Regions from separate parts of the Homo sapiens genome. Here region 1 is linked to region 2. The links are contacts of gene promoters, found by promoter capture Hi-C in blood cells and fetal thymus (Javierre and others, 2016). All regions are on one chromosome and are shown on one strand. The core of a region is centred on a gene start or on the middle of the fragment in contact, and the rest is flanking DNA. Distances in the headings are between cores, read along the strand shown.

Region 1 (4,930 bases), core at 1,847-4,346, 85 kb after region 2:
CCGCCAAATCCTTTCTTTTCATTTCTTTTAAAGGCAAGTACCTGCCTAAGTTGTAAGAGAACATCAGCCATCTCTTCTGCATGGGCTGTGTTAAAATTTCTTACCTAAGAGTCTTTACCTTTGAGTGAATTATTTTAGAACAGGTTGAATTAAAGTTGATTTAACCCAGTTAGGTCTAAGATTTTCTCAGTACTATTACTTAATTATATTTGTGTTATATGGAGCCCACATGTGTCATAGATTCTTTAGCTTGAGGCAGAAAAGTTTTAAGAGGCTTTTTTGTTTGTTTGTTTGTTTTTTAAGTGGAGAGAGAGTCTCACTGTGTCACCCAGGCTGGAATGTAGTGGTGCACTCTTGGCCCACTGCAACCCTCCAGGCTAAAGCAATCTTCCTGAGTAGCTGGGACTATAGGCGCGCCACCATGCCTAGCTAATTTTTAATGTTTTTTTTGTAGAGATGAGGTTTCTCCACGTTGCCCAGGCTGGTCTCAAACCTCTGGGCTCAAATGATTGTTCCTTCCTTTTTAACAACAACAACAAAAAGCCTGCCTTGAGTGAGAAACGCATTTAATAAATATCTTTTAAATATATATTCATTTACTGTGATATGAGAACTGTTATTACTGGCTTTTATCTTCTTCGGCCAGTAGTCTTTAATTAAGCTAGATACATGCTTCATGTCATTATTTTCTTTGGTACTCCATTGCTGGATGTATCAAGCATAAAGAAACTAAGAAGTAGGGGCTTACTCCTGAGCAAACTTCTGTCAAACCTGTTAGGGTGGCTTTAGGTGCCCTCTGCTTTTCTGATCTTTCTGTTTGGCTCTTTGTTTTTGCTCTTGCAGTTGGCATTGTTATTGTTGTTCTTGTCGAGGTGGATGTAACTGCTTTAAACTTTGACTCATTTCTGATGAGTTCCACGCCCCTTAGTTGCCAGTGCCAGTGCCAGAGATGGGCTTGTTTTTCAGGATCAGTTGTTAGTACAGCAGTGAAAGTCCCTCTTTAGTAAAAGTAAAAACGTTTTTTGGATATTTTAACCCCTCACGGTACTTTATCAATGTTTTTCTACTCGTAGAAGCACATATTGATATTTCCAGAAACCAAAAACTCAGAAGCACCAGTTTCTGCCAGAAGAATGAGTTTTACAGCTTGAAGTACCTTTTGTAATAGATGACTTAACTCCTTGTCCTTAATGTTTTCTTTTTAAAAACAAGTAGTGGGCGGACATGGCGGCTCTTGTCTGTAATCTCAACACTTTGGGAGGCCAAGGTGGCTGGATCACCTGAGTTTGAGACCAGCCTGGACAAAATGCCGAGACTGCTTCTCTATATTAAAATCCAAAAATTAGCTGGGTGTGGTGATGCATGCCTATAGTCCCAGCTACTCGGGAGGCTGAGGCTGGAGGATTGCTTGAGCCCAGGAAGTTGAGGCTGCAGTGAACTGTGCAGAGATTGCGCCACCCACTCCAGCCTGGGTGTCAGAGTGAGACCCTTCCTCAAAAAAAAAAAAAAAATAATAATAATAATAAAATCCTAAGTAGCACTGGAAGGCCTCTCTTGCTTCATTTACCCATCCCCTACCCTGCTGGATTATTTACGCCCCGGGTATGGTCTGTGCAACTGTTTTTCTGGTTATGCTACAGCCAGCATTGTTCTTTACTATCGCTCTGTTTTCATTGTGAAGAATGGCAGTTTTTCTTACAATTCAGATGTTTTGGAAGATATCTGTGCGCATGCTTAATTTAATATTCAGGTGACATTTTTCTTTAGCAGTAGTTTCCCTCACAAACTGTCTTCTCATGTCACTCCAGTAAAGAGATAATCTGGTTTTATAACACATTTAGCAGGTTACATTTCTTTAAGTGTGAGGTTTCAGGTAAAATAAATTTCAGGACAGTAAACCCTTTTATGCTCTTTTCATAGAATTGGTAGAAAATATTTCAAACTATGTAATATTAAAGCATAGTGTTTCTTAAAGAAGGTGTTAAATATCACTGATAGGGAAATTACTTTGCTGTTAGGTATTAATGTTACAGCAGAAAGTAAGGCTTTATACCAAGCTTTTGCCTGAAAAATTGATGAAATTTGTGGGAAGTAAAAGTGCCAACTGGGGAAATGCTCTGGGGATTGAGTTGCAAATGATAGGAAATACAGAATCTGAAACAGAACAAAGGATCATCCTGATGCCTTCTTCTCTTTGGCTGCTAGAATGCTCAGGTCCAGTGTGCTTAATATTTTTGGTGTTATTTTGTTGTCCTTACTTTTTTCCATTTTTCTCATTGATTTTATTGTTTTATTTTTGAAGATGCCTAAAAAAAATTTTCCCGTGAAAGCAGTGAGTAATAAGTAAATAAAAATGAAATAATATGTTTCATGGTTGTATGGCACATTAATTTGTCTTAAAACCAGGATATCTCTTTTACCCTCTTATTTATTTTATTATTTTATTATTTTAGACATAGGGTCTCACTTTGTTGCTCAGGCTGGACTCAGACTCCTGGGCTCAAGTGATCTTCCCACCTCAGCCTCCCAAGCAGCTGATCTACAGGCACCTGCCACCTTGCCTGGCTGACCCACTTGCTTAAATTATAAATACAACTAAATCATACCTGGCTATGTCAGTTTGCTACTAATGTCTGTGTGCACTGTTTTTTGTTTCATAGATTGGCTCACAGTGGTTGATTGATCAACCCCATTGGACGTTGGTTCTGTGGTACAAATGGAGTACAGGACTCAGTCGTCACGGCCTGAGTGAGAGAAGCCTTATTTCCAAGATGGAGAAGAAGCGGAGAAAGAAATGAAAGCCTCTCTTCAGGCTGAACCACAAAAGGCCATGGGATTTAACTTTTATTTATGTTGGGCAAGACTGTAAGATGGCTGATTAGTAATGTTGCAGCTTTTAGCTGAAACAAAAATTCACTTTTAATCAAGAAGAAAAAAGTGTGATTTGAATATATGCAATTTTATGATCATATTCGCTTGTGACCATGAAGCTTGTCAACATCTGGCTGCTTCTGCTCGTGGTTTTGCTCTGTGGGAAGAAACATCTGGGCGACAGACTGGAAAAGAAATCTTTTGAAAAGGCCCCATGCCCTGGCTGTTCCCACCTGACTTTGAAGGTGGAATTCTCATCAACAGTTGTGGAATATGGTAATGATGTTGTCTTAAGTATTAGGAACTCCCATCCTATTTTTTTAAAGCTTACTTAATATAAAATTAGCTATTGCTGAATAACATGTTCCTCTTTTCTACAGTAAATTTCTTTCTTTTTTTTTTTTTTGAGACAGAGTCTCACTCTGTCACCCAGGCTGGAGTGCAGTGGCATGATCTCGGCTCACTGTAACCTCCACCTCCTGGATTCAAGCAATTCTCATGCCTCAGCCTCCCAAGTAGCTGGGATTATAGGTGACTGCCACCGTCCCTGGCTAATTTTTTGTTTTGATTTGTTCTGTTTTGTTTTGTTTTGTTTTTGAGATGGAGTCTCACTCTGTTGCTGAGGCTGGAGTGCAATGGCACGATCTCGGTTCACTGCAACTTCCACCTCCCAGGTTCAAGCAGTTCTCCTGCCTCAGCCTCCTGAGCAGCTGGGACTACAGGCACCCGCCACAACTCCCAGTTAATTTTTTCTATTTTTAGTAGAGATGGGGTTTCACCACATTGGCCAGGCTGGTCTCGAGCTCCTGACCTCGTGATCCGCCTGCCTTGGCCTCCCAGAGTGTTGGGACTACAGGCATGAACTATCGTGCCAGGCCTTTTTTTTTTTTTTTTTTTGTATTTTTAGTAGAGACGGGGTTTCAGCATGTTAGCCAGGCTGGTCTTGAACTCCTGACCTCAAGTGATCACCCTCCTTGGCCTCCCAAAGTGCTGGGATTACAGGCATGAGCCACCGTGCCTGGCCTTCTGTAGTAAATTTCCAATGGGTTGAGTGCACAGCACATGAATGTTAACTTTGCTTAAGTTTGTTTTCCCAGTAGAGTAAGCTTATATGATAAAAGGAAATTGACATGAATTATTTACCTACACCTTCTTTTCTTTTTCTTTTGGAGACAGAGTTTTGCTCTTGTCGCCCAGGCTGGAGTGCAGTGGTGCCATCTCAGCTCATTGCAGCCTTGGCCTCCCAGGCACAAGTGGTCTCCCACTTCAGCCTCCTGAGTAGCTGGGACTACAGGCACCTGCCACCGTGCCCAGCTAATTTTTTTATTTTTGTTTTTTCTTTTTTCTTTTTTGAGATGGAGATTCACTCTTGTTGCCCAGGCTGGAGTGCAATGGCACCATCTCAGCTCACCGCAACCTCCACCTCCCAGGTTCAAGCGATTCTCCTGCCTCAGCCTCCCGAGTAGCTGGGATTACAGGCATGTGCCACCATGCCCGGCTAATTTTGTCTTTTTAGTAGAGACTGCGTTTCTCCATGTTGGTCAGGCTGGTCTTGCACTCTTGACCTCAGGTGATCCTCCTGCATTGGCCTCCCAAAGTGTTGGGATTACAGGCATGAGCCACTGTGCCCGGCCTGCCCAGCTAATTTTTTTATTTTTTGTTTCACCATGTTGCCCAGGCTGGTCTTAAACTCCTGAGCTCAAGCAATCCATCCACTTCGACCTCCCAGAATGCTGGGATTATAGGCATGAGCCACTGTGCCCAGCCTACACCTTGATTCTTTGGAACAGGTGCCATTGTAATTGGTGAAGGTGGGGAGCTGGGAGGTGCAGAATGTTTATGTTCTAAAGTTTGAGTGACCAGATGTGAAGAACTGAGCAAATAGTCTCACATAATCCACTCTGGAATTTTGTTACTGTTTTCGTTTTAAGAAACACTAACTGAGCATTCAGTTCTCTGAATTTCTTTTTCCTACTTGATAAAAATTATATACATTTCTTTGTTGTGTATTCAAACTTCTGTAGGTATTTGCTTTTTAAAAAAATATCACGGGTATCTG
Region 2 (4,365 bases), core at 934-3,433:
AAATGGAACTGGCCTCGCAGTGCCAAAGCTGGATAGGCGTTTTACAAGGGTAATGTAGAATATTAGTGTGGTAGGCAAAATAATGGTTCCCCCAAAGATGTCTACAGCCTAATCCCCAGAACCTATGAGTATATTATTTGGCAAGGGGGCATTAAGGTTGCAGGTGGAAGTAAGGTTGCTAATCAGCTGCCTTTAAAATAGGGCTCTCACCTGTAACCCCAGCACTTTGGGAGGCCCAGGTGGGAAGGTAGCTTGAGCCCAGGAGTTAGAGACCAACTTGGGCAACATGATGAAATCCCATCTCTACAAAAACTACAAAAATTAGGCCGGGCGTGGTGGCTCATGCCTGTAATCCCAGCACTTTGGGAGGCCAAGGCGGGTGGATCACATGGTCAGGAGTTCAAGACCAGCCTGGCCAATATGGTGAAACCCCGTCCCTACTACAAATACAAAAATTAGCTGGGTGTGGTGGCAGGCACCTGTAGTCTCAGCTACTCGGGAGGCTGAGGCAGGAAAATCGTTTGAACCTGGAAGGTGGAGGTTGTAGTGAGCCAAGATCACGCCACTGCACTCCAGCCTGGGTGACAGAGTGAAACTCTGTCTCAAAATAAAAAAAAAAAAAGAAAATTAGCCAGGCATGGTGGTGCTTGCATGTAATCCCAGCTACTCGAGAGACTGAGGTGGGAGAATCATCTCAGCCTGGGAAGTTGAGGCTGCAATGAGCCATGATGGTACCACTGCACCCTAGCCTGGGCGACAGAGTGAGACCCTGTCTCAAAAAAATAAATAAAACAAATAAAATAGGGAGATTATCCTGGATTACCTGGGCGGGCCTACTATAATCACATGGGTCCTTACATGGGAAAGAGGGAGACAGAAGAGTAAAAACCAGAGAGATGGCCTCATGAGAAGAATCCGACTGGCATTGCTGGCTTTGAAGATGGAAAGGGGTCATGAGCCAAGGAATGCAGGCAGCTTCCAGAAGCCAGAAAAGACAAGATAGTGGACTCTTCCTTAGAGCCTCTCAAAAGGAACACAGCCCTGCTGGCACTTTTAGTCCAGGTAAAAACTTCCAGATAAAAACAATATAGGCCAGGCGTGGTGGCTCATCCTGTAATCCCAGCAATTTGGGAGGCCTAGGCAGGCGGATCACTTGAGGTCAGGAGTTCAAGACTCAGCCTGACCAACATGGTGAAACCCCGTCTCTACTAAAAATACAAAAATTAGCCGGGCATGGTGGCGCAGGCCTGTAATCCCAGCTACTCGGGAGGCTGAGGCAGAAGAATTGCTTGAACCCAAGAGGCGGAGGTTGCAGTGTGCCAAGATCGTGCCACTGCACTCTAGCCTCCATCTCAAAAAAATAAATAAAGACATAGATGACAGCTGAGAATTTGGAAATTGATTCTTTAAAGCAACGGTTCTCAAAGTATGGCCCCTGGACCAGCATCATCTGGGAACTTGCTAGAAATGCAGACTCTTGGGCCACATCCCAGATCTACTGAATCAGCAACTCGGGGGGCAGAGGTAGGGTGGAGCCTAGCAAACTTGTAACAAGCCCCCCAGGTGGTTCTAAGGCTCACTGAAGTTTGAGAAGTACTATGTTAGGATAACGGTAAGGTTCATGACTGGACAGTGGTTCTTAAAGCATGGCCCCCAGATAAGCAGTTTCAGCATCACCTGGGAACTTAGGCAAATCATCAGGTCCCACCCCAGACTCACCGAATTGGAGACTGTGTTTTAACTAGCCCCCCAGGTGCTACTGCTGACGCACGCTAGCTAGAGTTTGAAGACCACTGCCTAAAGCTCTCCCTGCCTGACCACCCCTGGAAAAGCTTCACTCTTAGTAGGTATTTGTACCCTTATTTGTAAAGCCCGCTTCTTGGGATTTAAGGACAATCAGTAGGATACCTACTGACCAATACAGGTCTGGCTTATAGTAGGTGTTCTGTGGGAGTTCGTTAAATGATTAATTTAATACAACTCTGAGGAAATTGGTGAAGTAGATGTGGGATTCGAACCTAAGTCCACCCGGCCTCCACTATTGGGACTCAAGGGAGCTTTATTTCCGCTGCCCACGCGCCGCCTGCACGCCCGTTCCCTCTCCTCCCGGGAGGGGGCGCGCCAGGACCCTAAGAGGCCTGGCTGGGAGGCGGGACTTCCTGCCTCCGCAGGAGGCACTTCCGGTCCAAACCGGAAGACCGTGGGTAGCTGCGGCGGGGCTGACCCGTCCCGAGTGCCAAAGCTGGGGTTCTACTTGAGATTTCCCTCGTGGTGCCAGGGTCCGGCGAGCATCACGCCGAGGCCCATTTTCCAGACGACCACGACGAGGCCGGGGTCACGTAAGTGCACGCATGCGCCCCCTCCGCGCGGACTGCGCGTGTTCGAGGAGCGGACCCGCAGATGTAGGAGGGGAGGGACGCCCCCAATCCCCAGTCCCCGCGGCAGGCTCACGTTTCGCAGTCCCCGGCCTGTCGTTATTGCGGATCCGACTGAGTTCTGTAGCCTTGGAGGTCTAAAGGGTCCTGGAGAGCCCGCAGCGAGGGCGGGAAGCCGGCCGGGGAAGTCGAGGCTGCCTTGTCTGAGGGCTTTTGTGGGGTCGTGCTCTCCACCAGCGCCCTCCGCCTGTCTAGGATCGTTTCAGGCTATGCGGTTCCAAGAGAAAATATTTTTGTTTCTATTTTATTTTTGAGATAGAACCTTGCTCTGTCACCCAGGCTGGAGTGCTGTGGCATGATCTTGGCTCACTGCAACCTCTGCCTCCCAGATTCAAGCGATTTTCGTGCCCAGCCTCCTCGGTAGTTGCGATTACAGGTGTACACCACCACGCCCGGCTAATTTTTGTATTTTTAGTATTGACAGGGTTTCACTGTATTGGCCGGACTGGTCTCAAACTTCTGGCCTCAGGTGATCCGCCCGCCTTGGCCTCCCAAAGTGCTGGGATTGCAGGCGGGAGCCACCGCACCCGGCCAAAGGGAAAAGATTTTTGTATAGCGAGACTCTAATGCTAGCGTTTGCATTTCGGTGCATGCGAGAGCACTGGTTCGGAGCTCTGCCTCTGAATCGGATGGGAATCAAGTCTTGGCTGTGGCAGCTAAGAGCTGTTGGACTAAAGTTCTTGCTGAGCCTTCGTTTCCTGAACTCTGTTAACAGGGACGGCGATAGAAGAGTGCAGCATTTAGCATGTGCCTGGCAGATAGATGCTGGCGCTTGGTCAGCGAGCGCTGCTGTTATTTTTGCCCCTGTTATTTTTGTTAATTAAAAAGGAGGGATGCTATGGCTGCTCATACTTCTAGAGGACTGTATTTACCAAAGCCTTGTGATGTAATTTTTTTTTTTCTTGAGATGGAGTTTCGCTCTTGTTGCCCAGGCTACAGTGCAATGGCGCGATCTCAGCTCACCGCAACCTCCGCCTCCCGGCTTCAAGGAATTCTCCTGCCTCAGCCTCCCGAGTAGCTGGGATTACAGGCATGCGTCACCACGCCCGGCTAATTTTGTATTTTTAGTAGAGACCGGGTTTCTCCACATTGGTCAGGCCAGTCTCGAACTCCCGACCTCAGGTGATCCGCCTGCCTCGGCCTCCCAAAGTACTAGGATTACCGGCGTGAGCCACCGCGCCCGGCCCCTTGTGATAGAAATTTATTTTTTTCAACCCCTAGTGCATTTTCTGGGAGGCACTGTGCTTGACAGTAGGAAGACGATGCTCAGATGCAGTCCCTGGCTGTGGAGTAACTTGAGCGTCTTGGGGGTGTAGTCTGTAAATGTATGATGACGGTACTTACGAGCCGGGAGAGAGGCTGCCCCTTGCCGTCTTTCTGACTCCATCTCCACCGCTCTCCACCTCGCTCACTCTGGCTGCCTCATTTTCTCACACACTTCACTGCTCTAGGATTTTCACAGTTGTTGACCGTTCGGCCTGGAACCCTCTTCCCAGTTGCGTACATGGTTCTCTCCTTCACTAGGTTCAGGCTGTGCTCAAACGCCACCTTCTCAACGAGGCTTTTCCTGGCTGGCTTTGCTGAAACCACGCCCTCAGCCCACTACCAGATCCCCTTCTCCTGGACGGGTGGTTGGCTTTAATACAGTTCTCACTACTGCTTGGCCTTGGGCTACATATTTGTTTTTTGTTATCTGCTTCCTCAAAGAACATATGCTTCCCGTAGTGCACTTTTCACTCCTCAGGAACTCTGGCGCCCCTTACCAGCTTCCAGTCTCTCGAGGTGGCCAGTGTGGTGCTTGGTCCTTGTTTCCAGGATGGACTTCCCCAGCTCCCTCCGCCCTGCATTGTTTCTGACCGGCCCCCTTGGTCTGAGCGACGTCCCTGACCTCTCTTTCATGTGCAGCTGGCGAGACGCACTGACTCTGCCA

What was found. The method cuts DNA at HindIII sites, captures the fragments that hold promoters and counts their contacts. A CHiCAGO score of 5 or more calls a contact.
Region 1: a fragment that was not itself captured here is called in contact with the fragment with the promoter of TAF1C in region 2 in 2 of 17 cell types (total CD8 T cells and naive CD8 T cells); the score reaches 5.3 in total CD8 T cells.

What each region holds. Positions count from the first base shown.
Region 1 is chr16:84,099,838-84,104,767 of GRCh38, reverse strand. It overlaps MBTPS1 (membrane bound transcription factor peptidase, site 1), which reads left to right. Exons shown (of 23, transcript NM_003791.4): 2 at 2,661-3,147. The coding sequence starts at 2,985. Among named protein-coding and RNA genes, the nearest start is that of MBTPS1, 15 kb to the left of the region's middle. The HindIII fragment of the contact is 207 bases long and covers 2,993-3,199 here.
Region 2 is chr16:84,184,875-84,189,239 of GRCh38, reverse strand. TAF1C (TATA-box binding protein associated factor, RNA polymerase I subunit C) reads left to right here and starts at 2,183. Exons shown (of 15, transcript NM_001243156.2): 1 at 2,183-2,339; 2 at 4,180-4,365. The coding sequence starts at 4,252. RefSeq lists a silencer at 1,988-2,197 and an enhancer at 1,843-2,343. The HindIII fragment of the contact is 17,434 bases long and covers 1,835-4,365 here.